Linked DNA regions of Homo sapiens: all the other regions are linked to region 2. Evidence: promoter capture Hi-C in human tissues and cell types (Jung and others, 2019). All regions are on one chromosome and are shown on one strand. The core of a region is centred on a gene start or on the middle of the fragment in contact, and the rest is flanking DNA. Distances in the headings are between cores, read along the strand shown. Region 1 holds the start of CELF5 (CUGBP Elav-like family member 5). Region 2 holds the start of ZNF556 (zinc finger protein 556). Region 3 overlaps GNG7 (G protein subunit gamma 7). Region 4 holds the start of GNA15 (G protein subunit alpha 15).

Region 1 (3,222 bases), core at 2-2,501, 360 kb after region 2:
AATTTTTGTGTTTTTAGTAGAGACAGAGTTTTCTCCATGTTGATCAGGCTGGTCTCGAACTCCTGATCTCAGGTGATCCACCTGCCTCAGCCTCCCAAAGTGCTGGGATTACAGGTGTGAGCCATCGTGCCTGGCCTGTTTTCTTATTTTTTACAGCAATGGCGTCTCACTATGTTGCTCAGGCTGGTCTCCAACTCCTGGGCTCAAGTGGTCCTCCTGACTCTGCTTCTCAAAGTGCTGGGATTACAGGTGTGAGCCACCACGGCCAGCACGTATTATTATTTTTATTAATATTATTGATGAGTTTCATACGTAAAGGATCACGGGCACTTTAGAGCTGGGAGATACTTCAGTATTTCTCCTATCCTGTCATTATCAGTGCGAGCCAGTCTCCCTCCTTGTTGATGACATTATTGATGAGTTACATACTTAAAGGGCCAAGGACACTTTCTATGTGTAAGCACCCTATAGAACTGGAAGATACTTTTACCATTTCTCCTGTGCTGTCGTGATTAGTGGGAGCACTTTGTCTTGCTCTTGATTAATTATTATTAGTGTTGTTATTATTAGGTGTTTTTTTTTTTTTTTTTTACCAAGACGGAGTTTTGCTCTTGTTGCCCAGGCTGGAGTACAATGGCACAATCTTGGCTCACTGCAACCTCCGCCTCCTGGGTTCAAGTGATTATCCTGCCTCAGCCTCCCGAGTAGCTGGGATTACAGGCACCCCCCGCCACCGAGCCCAGCTAATTTTTGTATTCTTTAGTAGAGACGGGGTTTCACCGTGTTAGCCAGTCTGGTCTCGAACTCCTGACCTCAAGTGATCCACCCACCTCGGCCTCCCAAAGTGCTGAGATGACAGGCGTGAGCCACCGCGCCCAGCCATATTATTAGTGTTATTAATATTATTGATGAGTTACCTACTTTAAGGATCACGGGCGCTTTCAACGACAAGCCCCCTACATTATCCCAGCAACTTTTGACATTCTTCCGGCCGATGCCCTCCGCGGGAGCCGGCGGGGACCCCTGGGAAGCCGGCTAAGGCCCGTCCCGCCCGCAGCTCCGCCCTCGCCCACCCGTAGGCGGGGCCCGGGGCCTTCCGGCCTCAGTTTCCCCCCGCGGCCCGGGGATGCGGGGAGGCGCCGGCTGCCCCGCGCGGCGCGGCCGCCAGGGGCCGCTGCGGAGCCGCCTTTGTGGTCCCGATGCCGGGGCGGGCGCGGGCGGGAGGAGGGCGCGGGGGCCCGGGAGGGAGGCGGGAGGCGCGGCCGCCGCTCCAGCTGCGAGTCCGCCCGCCGCCCGCCGCCGCCGCCGCCGGCTCGGTCCCGCGCCCGCCATGGCCCGCCTGACGGAGAGCGAGGCGCGCCGGCAGCAGCAGCAGCTCCTGCAGCCGCGGCCCTCGCCCGTGGGCAGCAGCGGGCCCGAGCCCCCCGGGGGGCAGCCCGACGGCATGAAGGACCTGGACGCCATCAAACTCTTCGTGGGCCAGATCCCGCGGCACCTGGACGAGAAGGACCTCAAGCCGCTCTTCGAGCAGTTCGGCCGCATCTACGAGCTCACGGTGCTCAAAGACCCCTACACGGGGATGCACAAAGGTGGGCGCCCGGCCCCCTCCCCCCTCTCCCCCTCCCTCCGCCTCCCACCCCACCTTCCGGCATCTTCTCTCCCCCATCACCATCCCTCCTCTGCTCACCTCCCTCCTCTGCCTGCCTCTGCCGGAGCATCGGTTCTTACCCCCTCCCTCCCACCCACCCCTCCTCCCCTCTCTGGGGGTGCAGCTGACAGATCCGAGCGGGCCCCCTCCCCTCCTCCGCCCCCTCTCCCTCCCTCCCCACCTTCCGGCATCTCCTCTCTCTCTCCCTCTCTCTCTCCCTCTCTCTCTCCCTTTCTCTTCTCTCCCATCTCCCTCGACCTCTCATCCTTCCCCCCACAGCACCCTCTCTCTCCCTCCCTCCCTCCCTCACCCTTCCATCCCCCAGACCCCCACCCCTTCCTCCCTCCCTCACCCCACTCTTTCCTGCCCGTTTGCCAGGGGAGCCTCGGGAACGCCGGCACCCCTCCCTGCCCCCCCACCCCCATTCATTCAGCCTCCCCAGGCCCCGTCGGGGAAGTTTGCACCTGCGGACTCCATTGCTTTGGTTATTTTCACAAAGCCAGGCCGGCGGGGCAGGTCCGGCCGCGGGGGACACGGATGCCCAGGACCCCAGGCTAATCGGTAACTACAAAGGAAGACGGGTTGGGGGCGCCCGGCTCGGGGGGACGCGCCCGCCTCGCCTGCCTCGGGTGGCGGAGAGGCTCCCGTCGCTGCCCACCCCCTGGCCCCACCACCTCCGCGTGGATCAGCATTCTCTCCTCCATTTCTCTGCCCTCCCCCTCCCCCGCCTCCACCTTGGGCTCAAGTTGAAACTGGCCGAGCCTCTTAGCAATGTGTTGGGGTCTCAGGCCCAAGACAATGAGCTTGGACGTGTCCATCTGGGCAGAGCCCAAATTCTGGGGTGGACAGGGAGGAGGAGGGAGGCGTGGGCGGCCTCAGGCCTGTCTGCCTCCCTCCCACTGGATTCTCCCTCCGATGGCATCCCGGGTGGGGGTGTCCGGCAATTGTATCCCCAGCCCTTGGTTCCCATCATGGGCCCAGCGTCTGAATTGGGGTGGCTTTGACAGCCTTCCGGTCAGGTGTTGGGGACTGGGGGTGCCACTTCAAAGGCCTTGTGCTGGACACCCCCGGCCCTCCCCCTCCCATCCTCCAGGAAGACCCTGGAGAGGCCTTGGGGAAGGACCGGGGCCCATGACCTATTTTACACCCACTTTTTCCCCAGCGCTGCGTGCCCGGTAAGCATGAATGCATGTTTATTGAATGAATGAATTGAATGAATGAATGAATGAATGAATGAATGAATGAAGGGGTTCAAGAAGGCCCTAGGGAGGGTCTGGTGAGATGGGGCCCAGGCCTGTCACTTCAGCTAGACCCTCCAGCTGGTTATCTTGAGGGAGGAAAGAAACCCCTCCCCATTCCCCATCTCTTTTCAAAACCAACCATCACACACACACACACACACACACACACACACACACAAAATTGGGCCTGAAAAATCTAACTCCTCCATGTGGCCTAGGAGGGCAGAGGGGCTCCCATGCGGCCCCCATAAGTCAATATCTGGAGTCCAGAGGTGATAGGTGGGCTTTTCCCACACGCCCCCACCCCTGGGTACACCCAAAGCACCCATTTCT
Region 2 (2,840 bases), core at 228-2,727:
CTTGATCACTGTCAGTAGCATCTGTAACCCCAAGGGAAGGGCGGGTCTTGGTGAAACCCTGTATTGTGGCTCAGCAGGAGAACGTCTGGTGGGATTGGTAAGGAATATTTGCATTTAAGTGGCTTCCGTGATCACAGTATACGGAATAGCCTCTGCAAAGGTGGGCGGGGACCCTATAAAATCTATTTGCTCTCAGCCCTACCAACAGGCTTCCAGGGATTATGCCTCCTTGATTATATGTCATTTGCCTGTAGACTATTCATCTGCCTGCACATTGAGCGCTCAGCTGTGGTGTTTGAGTTTTCATAGGTACACAGATATTCGTGACCTTGATTTTTACTTGAGAAACTGTGAGGCAAAATATCCCCAGAGTGCTTTAACCTCAAAATATTGACCTAGGATACAGTTGTTGCCACAGTTTTTTTTAAGTGTGTTTTCGGTTTTTTTGTTTTGTTTTGTTTTCTATGTTTTTGTTGTTGTTGTTGTTTTTGAGACGGAGTTTCCCTCTTGTTGCCTAGGCTGAGTGCAGTGGGGCAATCTCAGCTCACTGCAACCTCCGCCTTCCAGGTTCAAGCGATTCTTCCCCCTTAGCCTCCGAGTAGCTGGGATTACAGGCACCCACCACCACACCCGGCTAATTTTTTGTATTTTTAGTAAAGACAGGGTTTCATCATGTTGGCCACACTGGTCTCAAACTCCTGACCTCAGGTGATCCACCCACCTTGGCCTCCCAAAGTGCTGTGATTACAGGCATGAGCCACCGCGCCCGGCTGGCTAGACCATTGCTAATGGCTCAAGAGTTCAGTTCTAGCAATTGTGCTGACCCTAGTTAGGGAATGGTAAAGCTTTCGTTGGTCACTCACTTGACCCCATGGGCCTCCCCAGGTGTCTACTGGTCAGGAGAGAGAGGGGACCTCCTCCAGTGTCATGGAATCTGACAACAGACTGAGGACAGAAGAAGCTGCTTTTTTCTACGGTGGATACCCCAAGGGCCCAGGTTTCCCTCTAAGTCAGTACCACTTTCATTTCAGGAAGGAGACCACCGTGGATGGGGGCTGCTGCCTGCAGGACCCGAGACCTGAAAACTGACCAATCAGGCAGCTGGGGTGGGGCCTAGAGAACTGACCAATCAGGGGAGTTGAGGTGGAGCATCCGGATGAGAACTGTCAATCAGGGGGGTTGGGGCAGAGCCTGGAGACCTGTCAAATCAAAGGAGCTGAGGCAGGGCGTGGAAACATGACCAATTAGGAAAGCTGGGGTGGGGCCTGAAGAACTGCCCAATCAGGGGAGCTCAGGGGATAGCAAGCTGACCAACCAGAAGAGGAGGGGCAGAGTCTAAAGAACTGTCCAATCAGGGGAGTTGGGATGTGACTGGTGAACTCTCCAATCAGAGATGAGCAGAGAAGAGAACCATCCAATCACAGCCCCAGGGGCGGGGCGTTGCTGTCCTCCCTGCAGAGCACACCCGGCCTGCCCTGAGTGACCACAGGTGTCCCCGTCGTGCTCACCTGCACCGGCTGCGAGGAGCAGGGAGCTCCTCAAAGAGCTCAGGAACGGACAGGACATGGTGAGTGCAGGGCAGGAGCCGAGCCGGAGCCGGAGCCCTGGGAGGGGAGGGTTGGAAGCGGCCAGAACACGCTGAAACTCCCGGGGGAGCCGCCCGGAACCCCCATGCAGCCTCTGTCCCTGTGTCACCCCCGGGTCCTGCGGGGAGTTTCCTCCCCTGCCCCAGTCTTCATTCCCTGGAAAGTCGTAGTTGTCAGGACGCTGGGATGGAGGGGAAAAAAAGGCAGAAATGACTCCTGCCCTGTGGGGTCTCGCGAAGTTAATTGGAAGAAAAACTAACCCAAAGTACAAAAAACAAAACAAAAAAAAAAAAAACCTCACCCCAGCGAGGCGGTGCAACAGCCCCAAAGCAGAATGCGCTTTGGATGCAGACTTTGGGCCCAGGCCCACGTCCCTGGGAGGGGCGAGGGGTGGACAGGTGGTGCGGGCGCTCCACGTGGCGGCACGGGCTGGCCTGACCCCAAAGGCCCGCAGGCCGGACTCCAGCCCAGCCGCCCCTGCCTGGGCCTCTCTCCTTCTAAAGATTGATTTGGTTACTTGAGCCTCAGATTTTTTCAGTCAATGGAACATACAGTAAATAATAGAGTTTGAAAGATAAAATATTTCCAAGGAGGTGAATTTCAGAAAAAAATAAAGTTCTCGTCTTACATTCCATTTGTTAAAAATTCTAGCGTGCCTTTTTTTTTTCTTTTTATTTTCTGTTCCTTTTTTGCCCGTGTGGTTAAGTTTCTCACATCTGTTGTTTTATTTTCGGTGATGACAAATGGGATTCCAGGGCTTAGCCCTTGACGGGGCTCCCGGGAAAAAGAATCGCAGAGAAAGAGAGAAAATCTCTCTTTTATTATGACACGCCCCGAAATGAATACATTCCTACAAGAAAAAAATGTTTGGTATATAATTTGGTGAATTACAAAAACTCGCTAAAATATCAGTTATTCTCCTTTTCCAGGATGGAGAATTTGTGATAGATGATAATTCTGTTCTTTTATTTTTTGTTTTTATTTTTTGAAACGGAGTCTTGCTCTGTCACCCAGGCTGGAGTGCAGTGGCGCGATCTCGGCTCACTGCAACCTCCGCCTCCTGAGTTCAAGCGATTGATTCTCCTGCCTCAGCCTCCCCAGCAGCTGGGACTACAGGTGTGTGCCACCACGTCCAGCTAATTTTTGTATTTTTAGTGGAGACAGGGTTTTACCATGTTGGCCAAGCTGGTCTCCAACTCCTGACCTCAGGTGATCCACCCGCCTTGGCCTCCCAGAATGCTTGGATTACAGGCA
Region 3 (3,292 bases), core at 84-2,583, 260 kb before region 2:
CCACCACACCCAGCTAATTTTTGTATTTTTAGTAGAGACGGGGTTTCACCATGTTGGCCAGCATGGTCTCGATCTCCTGACCTCGTGATCTGCCCGCCTTGGCCTCCCAAAGTGCTGGGATGACAGGTGTGAGCCACCGCAGCCTGCCAAAATCTCACTCTTATAAGGACATTTGTAATTGTTTAGGGTCCACCTGGAGAACCCAGGATAATCTGCCGTCTGAAGATCCTTCATGTGATCACTTCTGCGACCTCTTTGTCCTATAAGGGAAAATTCACAGGTTCCAGACATTTAGGAGCCAATATCTTTGGGGGCATTACTCACACGACATACAAAGTCTCTTTTCAGGGCAAACATAGATGCTCACAGGAAATGCCTCCATGCCCCGCAGTCGGGCAAGCTTCCAAGCAAGCAAGCCGCTTTTAAGAGTCAGGAAGAGGCTGGGTGGCTCACGCCCGTAATCCCAGCACTGTGGGAGGCCGAGGTGGGTGGATTGCTTGAGCCCAGGAGTTTGAGACCAGCCTGGGCAACATAGTGAGATCCCATCTCTACAAAAAATACAAAAATTAGCTGGGCGTGGTGGTGTGCACCTGTAGTCCTTGGGGGGCTGAGGTGGGAGGATCACTTGAGCCCAGGAGTTGGAGGCTACAGTGAGCCGAGATTGCACCACTGCACTCCAACCTGCGTGACAAAGTTAGACTCTGTTTCTGGCCAGGTGCAGTGGCTCATGCCTGTAATCCCAGCACTTTGGGAAACTGAGGTGGGCAGATCACCTGAGGTCAGGAGTTCGAGACCAGCCTGACCAACATGGAGAAACCCCATCTCTACTAAAAATACAAAAATTAGCTGGGTGTGGTGGTGCACGCCTGTAATCCCAGCTATTCAGGAGGCTGAGGCAGCAGAATCGCTTGAACCCGGGAGGTGGAGGTTGCGGTGAGCCAAGATTGTGCCACTGCACTCCAGCCTGGGCAACAAGAGTGAAACTCTGTCTCAAAAAAAAATAATTAATTAATTAATTAATTAATTAATTTAAAAAAAAAGTTAGACCCTGTCTCAAAAATAAAAAGTCAGGATGAGAGAAGGCAGCCAAGGCAAGGAAGACCAATAACATGCTCGGATGGTGCAGTCTCTTTGGAACATTCCAAAACTAAACTGAGAAGGTTCCCATTCTCGGTGATGACAAGTTTCTGGAACTAGATAGATAGTGCTGGTGTTTGCACGCAGTGTTCATGGAAATAATGCCATGGAGTTGCAAACTTTTGAACAGTAAACAAGGGCCGGGCACCGTGGCTCATGCCTGTAATCCCAGCACCTCAGGAGGCCGAGGCGGGGGGATCATTTGAGCCCAGGATTTTGAGACCAGCCTGGGCAACACAGCGAGACCCTGTCTCCACGAAAAATTTAAAAATTAGCTGGGCATGGTGGTGTGTGTCTGTAGTCCCAGCTACTCAAGAGGCTGAGGTGGGAGGATCACTTGAGCCCAGGAGGTTGAGGCTGCAGTGAGCTGTGATCGCACCACTGCACTCCAGCCTGGGCGACAGAGCAAGACCCTGTGTCAAAAAAAAAAAAGAAGGCCAGGTGTGGTGGCTCACACCTGTAATCCCAGCACTTTGGGAGGTCGAGGCAGGCAGATCATCTGAGGTCGGGAGTTCAAGACCAGCCTGGCCAACATGGAGAAACCCTAACATTTTTAGTTTCTACTAAAAATTCAAAAAATTAGCCGAGCATGATGGCAGGCGCCTGTTATCCCAGCTACTTGGGAGGCTGAGGCAGGAGAATTGCTTGAACCTGGGAGGCAGAGGTTGCAGTGAGCCGAGATCGCACCATTGCACTCCAGCCTGGGCGACAAGAGTGAAACTCCATCTCAAAAAGAAAAAAAAAAAGAAAGACTAAAATGGTAAAAAAAAAAAAAAAAAGAAAGAAAGAAAAGAAAAAAGAAAAAGAAATACATATTAGGATGGGGCAAGCTAAACTACATTGTTATGTATTTTAACAACACATAAAACCCACTTGGGGCCAGTCTGCAAGTACCTCCCATGTAGGCTCAGCCTGGCACTTGAACCCCGTGCCCTCCGCCCCCCGCCCCTCCCAGTGGCGTCTCCGCTTCTCACTTCAGAGGCAGAGCTGTCATCGTGGGCACTGGGAAGTAGCCTGCAGTGTCAGCACAGACCGGCGCTCACCAACGACACGGCACGGAGGCTTTCTAGGGAGCAGTCCCCCCAGGACAGCAATACGTTCAGGCGACAGCGACACAGGGCAGCAACAGCGGTTCCCTCCTGGCAGGCAGCCAGACGCACACACGCACGCAGACCACACCATCCAGAAAGTTCACCTGCGACCTGAGACGCAGCTCTTTGAGGGAGATCAGAAGATCAGATGGTATTTGAGAAAAAAAAAAAAAAAAAGGTTAAGCCAAGTCAGTGGGAAGGTGGAGGAAAAAAAAAATAAATAAAGGTTAGGCTGAGGTCGCCGCCCTGCCACTCATGACACAGAGCGTGGCACGTCGGTTTCACACCTAAAAGTCAGAACGATTCACAGGTGGCGAAGCGTGGGTGGAGGAAAAGAGCGGGGATGTCTGAGGAGCAGAAAGACCGAAACGCAAGAGTAATACCTGCTGCGGAGAGGTTCCGCCCACGTGGGATTTGCCCCTGGGAAAAAAAAAAAAAGTCCCCGAAGCCCCTGCAAGGCAAGGCCTGCGGGCTGGAGGGACGGGCTCTTCACACACACGGGAGGACAGAGATCGTCTCTGGAGGTGGGCGCCCCAGCAGGCACACTGACGGCCTCGGTGCAGCTCCCCTGCACCCCCAAATGACGCAGGTCAGTAATCCAGGGACGGGCAGCAGGCTCACGTGTCCCCAGATGCAGGCACACCTGTGCCTCTCGAGTCATCTGCAGAGTCACGAGACCAGCAACCTGGAAACCTGGAGGAGCTCCCCTGGCTGCCACCGGACACCCCAGGGCAAGGGGCCGGGTGCCTCCCGGGCAACCCCCTCTCTCTGCAGCAGGGGATGCAGATGGCAGAGTCTCAAAGGCCTTCCCTGCATGGGGCAGACACGGAGGACACACTCTCCCGGGGTCTGCACTGAGGCTGTCAGGGGGCCTGCTGCGTTCCCCACTCCAGGTAACCCTGTCTGCTGGCACTGAGGGCCTCATCAGACCCCTGCAGGCCTGCAACCACAGCCAAAATCAGTGTGCCTTCTCCAAAGCCACCTTCTGACCCGCTTTTTAAAGAAACTGAGGTAAGGTTTGCATAATGTAAAATTAAGCATTTTAAAGTGAACAATTCAGTGGC
Region 4 (2,990 bases), core at 224-2,723, 270 kb after region 2:
GACTACTGGTGCGTGCCAACATGCCCAACTAATTTTTGTATTAGTAGAGATGGAGTTTCTCCATGTTGGCCAGGCTGGTCTCAAACTCCTGACTTCAAGTGATCCTCCTGCCTCGGCCTCCCAAAGTACTTTGATTACAGATGTGAGCTCCCGCACTCACCTGGCCAAATTTTTTATTCTTTTATTTTTTATTTTTTTTGAGATGGAGTCTCACTTCGTCGCCAGGCTGGAGTGCAGTGGCACGATCTCAGCTCACTGCCACCTCTGCCTCCCGGGTTCAAGCGATTCTCTTGCCTCAGCCTCCCAAGTAGGTGGGACTACAGGCGTGCACCACCACGCCCGGCTAATTTTTGTATTTTTAGTAGAGACGGGGTTTCGCCGTGTTGGCCAGGCTGGTCTCGATTTCTTGACTTTGTGATCTGCCCGCCTTGGCCTCCCAAAGTATAGGGATTACATGCGTGAGCCACCAGGCCCAGCCTAAAATTTATTTTATTATCTGTTCTTTAACTAGAACCTTAGGTAAGGAGGTCTGGGATCTGTGTCTCTTGGCTACCGTGCCTGGCACACAGTTGGCGCTCCATGAATGCACGCACAATGAAGGGATGGCCCTGCCTGGAATCTGCCTGGTAGGCGTCTAGACTCTGGGGCCCCGCAGGTGAGGGATAGGCTCCCGGCTCTGCCTTGTGCCAGCCCCACCGGTCACTCCCCTGCTCTATGCCTCAACCTCCTCATCAGTCAAACAGGGATGACAGTAGTAACTATACAGGGTGATGTGAGTGTAAAACCAGCTAATGTGAGCCAAAACCCGGCTAATTTTTGTATCTTTAGTAGAGACAGGGTTTCGCCATGTTGGCCAGGCTGGTTTCGAACTCCTGACCTCAGGCAAGCTGCCCACCTCTGCAGGGTGGATCACCTGAGGTCAGGGCAGAGTCGCTGGAAACAGTCCATGACACCTGGCCTGAGCTGTTTCTTAAAAATATATCAGAAGGGCCGAGCGTGGTGGTTTATGCCTGCAATCCCAGCACTTTGGGAGGCCGAGGCGGGTGGATCACCTGAGGTCAGGAGTTTGAGACCAGCCTGGCCAACGTGGTGGAACCCTTTCTCTACTAAAAATCCAAAGTTAGCCCGGCGTGGTGGTGGATGCCTGTAATCCCAGCTACTCGAGAGGCTGAGGCAGGAGAATTGCTTGAACCTGGGAGGCAGATGTTGCAGAGTCAAGATCCTGCCACTGCACTCCAGCCTGGGCAATAAGAGTGAAACTCTGTCTCAAAAAAAAAAAAAAAAATATATATATATATATATATATATATATATATATATATATATATATATACACATATATATATATACACACACATATATATATGATATATATATAATGTATCAGCAGTAGCACGGGTCTGACGGTTCCTGATTGGCTCCGAGGAGGGGGACAGCTCCGGGTGAAGCCTGAGGAGAATCCGCCCCTTCTCCAGAAGGAGGAAGAAGGGCCCTGCTGGTCACACAGGACCCAGTCTGCGGTGGGGGTTTTCCCGCCACCGCCCCGCCCTCCCTGGGGCCCCCACCTCACCCTCTCCTGGCACCCTTCACCGTCAACCTGTCGGGCCGGGTCTGAGCAGGTCTGGAGGTGGGCGGGGAGCCCTGGCCTCCCCACCTCCTCCCGTCCCCACCCTGTTCCCAGCACTCAAGCCTTGCCACCGCCGAGCCGGGCTTCCTGGGTGTTTCAGGCAAGGAAGTCTAGGTCCCTGGGGGGTGACCCCCAAGGAAAAGGCAGCCTCCCTGCGCACCCGGTTGCCCGGAGCCCTCTCCAGGGCCGGCTGGGCTGGGGGTTGCCCTGGCCAGCAGGGGCCCGGGGGCGATGCCACCCGGTGCCGACTGAGGCCACCGCACCATGGCCCGCTCGCTGACCTGGCGCTGCTGCCCCTGGTGCCTGACGGAGGATGAGAAGGCCGCCGCCCGGGTGGACCAGGAGATCAACAGGATCCTCTTGGAGCAGAAGAAGCAGGACCGCGGGGAGCTGAAGCTGCTGCTTTTGGGTGAGTCCAGGGTCGGTGGGCGGTGGGTGGTGGGCAGTGGGCGGTGGCCAGCCGGCAGGGGTGTCGGGGCAAGGAGGCGGATCAGGCTAGGTCAGACATTGGCATCGTGGAGCCGTCGCCTCCTCCCAGGGAATGGGGAGCCTGGAACCCATTTTCCAGATGAGAAAGACTGAGGTTCAGAGAAGCCAAGTTCCTTGTCCAACGTGCGACCAGCGGCCAGGTGCCCAGGCCTGTCCACTGTGTGGGGCATATACAATAGCAGACGTGGCTCTACCGGGCCCCTGCCGGGCAGGCCCAGCACGCCCTACCTGTCTGTGTCATGGCGAGGGAATGATGAGCTCAGGTGTGCAACCCGTTCTGGCCAGCCCACCCGTAAGGGAGGGGCCGGCTCCAGCCTCTCCTTCACCAGGACGCTCCCTCTCGCCTTTACCTCCCTGCCATGGCTGGAGAGGGCTTGTCTAGGGCTCCTTTGGGGGCTAGAAAGGATGGATTGATTGGTTCATTGGTTCATTCATTCATTATTCATTCATTTAAGATTTATTGGGTAGCTCCCAGGAACGAGGCAGCCAAACAGGGGAAGATATTTCTGTCTTCCTGGATCTCATTTCCTGTGAAGGAGCCAAGACATTTAGTCTGTAAACTCATAAGCAGATAAAATAATTCTGGCAACAAGAATTATCTAGGAGAAAACAAAACAGGGTGATGGCTTCCATGCGGAGGCTTCAGATGGGGGAGTCGACGTCAGTAACGGTTCAAGATTCTGAACTCTGGCTGGGTGCAGTGGCTCAAGCCTGTGATTTCAGCACTTTGGGAGGCCCAGGCGGGTGGGATCACTTGAGGTCAGGAGTTCAAGACACAGCCAGGCCAACATGGTGAAGCCCCGTCTCTACTAAAATACCAAAAATTTGCCAGGCATGGTGGCTCATGCCTGTAATCCCAGCACTTTGGGAGGCC

Evidence for each region. The method cuts DNA at HindIII sites, captures the fragments that hold promoters and counts their contacts. A contact is called where the count stands out against the background at its distance.
Region 1: the fragment with the promoter of CELF5 here is called in contact with the fragment with the promoter of ZNF556 in region 2 in 8 of the 25 tissues and cell types used here (IMR-90 fibroblasts, adrenal gland, aorta and 5 more).
Region 3: a fragment that was not itself captured here is called in contact with the fragment with the promoter of ZNF556 in region 2 in 1 of the 25 tissues and cell types used here (small bowel).
Region 4: the fragment with the promoter of GNA15 here is called in contact with the fragment with the promoter of ZNF556 in region 2 in 6 of the 25 tissues and cell types used here (dorsolateral prefrontal cortex, lymphoblastoid cells, mesenchymal stem cells and 3 more).

The regions. Positions count from the first base shown.
Region 1 is chr19:3,223,410-3,226,631 of GRCh38, forward strand. It overlaps CELF5 (CUGBP Elav-like family member 5), which reads left to right and starts at 1,252. Exons shown (of 13, transcript NM_021938.4): 1 at 1,252-1,589. The coding sequence starts at 1,331. RefSeq lists a silencer at 1,073-1,192. The HindIII fragment of the contact is 19,492 bases long and covers 1-3,222 here.
Region 2 is chr19:2,865,858-2,868,697 of GRCh38, forward strand. ZNF556 (zinc finger protein 556) reads left to right here and starts at 1,478. Exons shown (of 4, transcript NM_024967.3): 1 at 1,478-1,567. The coding sequence starts at 1,565. The HindIII fragment of the contact is 10,595 bases long and covers 1-2,840 here.
Region 3 is chr19:2,605,664-2,608,955 of GRCh38, forward strand. The region is part of intron 2 of GNG7 (G protein subunit gamma 7); the gene reads right to left. Among named protein-coding and RNA genes, the nearest start is that of MIR7850, 23 kb to the right of the region's middle. RefSeq lists enhancers at 1,654-2,508, 2,379-2,948, 2,509-3,292, 3,189-3,292. The HindIII fragment of the contact is 9,077 bases long and covers 1-3,292 here.
Region 4 is chr19:3,134,560-3,137,549 of GRCh38, forward strand. It overlaps GNA15 (G protein subunit alpha 15), which reads left to right and starts at 1,474. Exons shown (of 7, transcript NM_002068.4): 1 at 1,474-2,036. The coding sequence starts at 1,892. The HindIII fragment of the contact is 27,733 bases long and covers 1-2,990 here.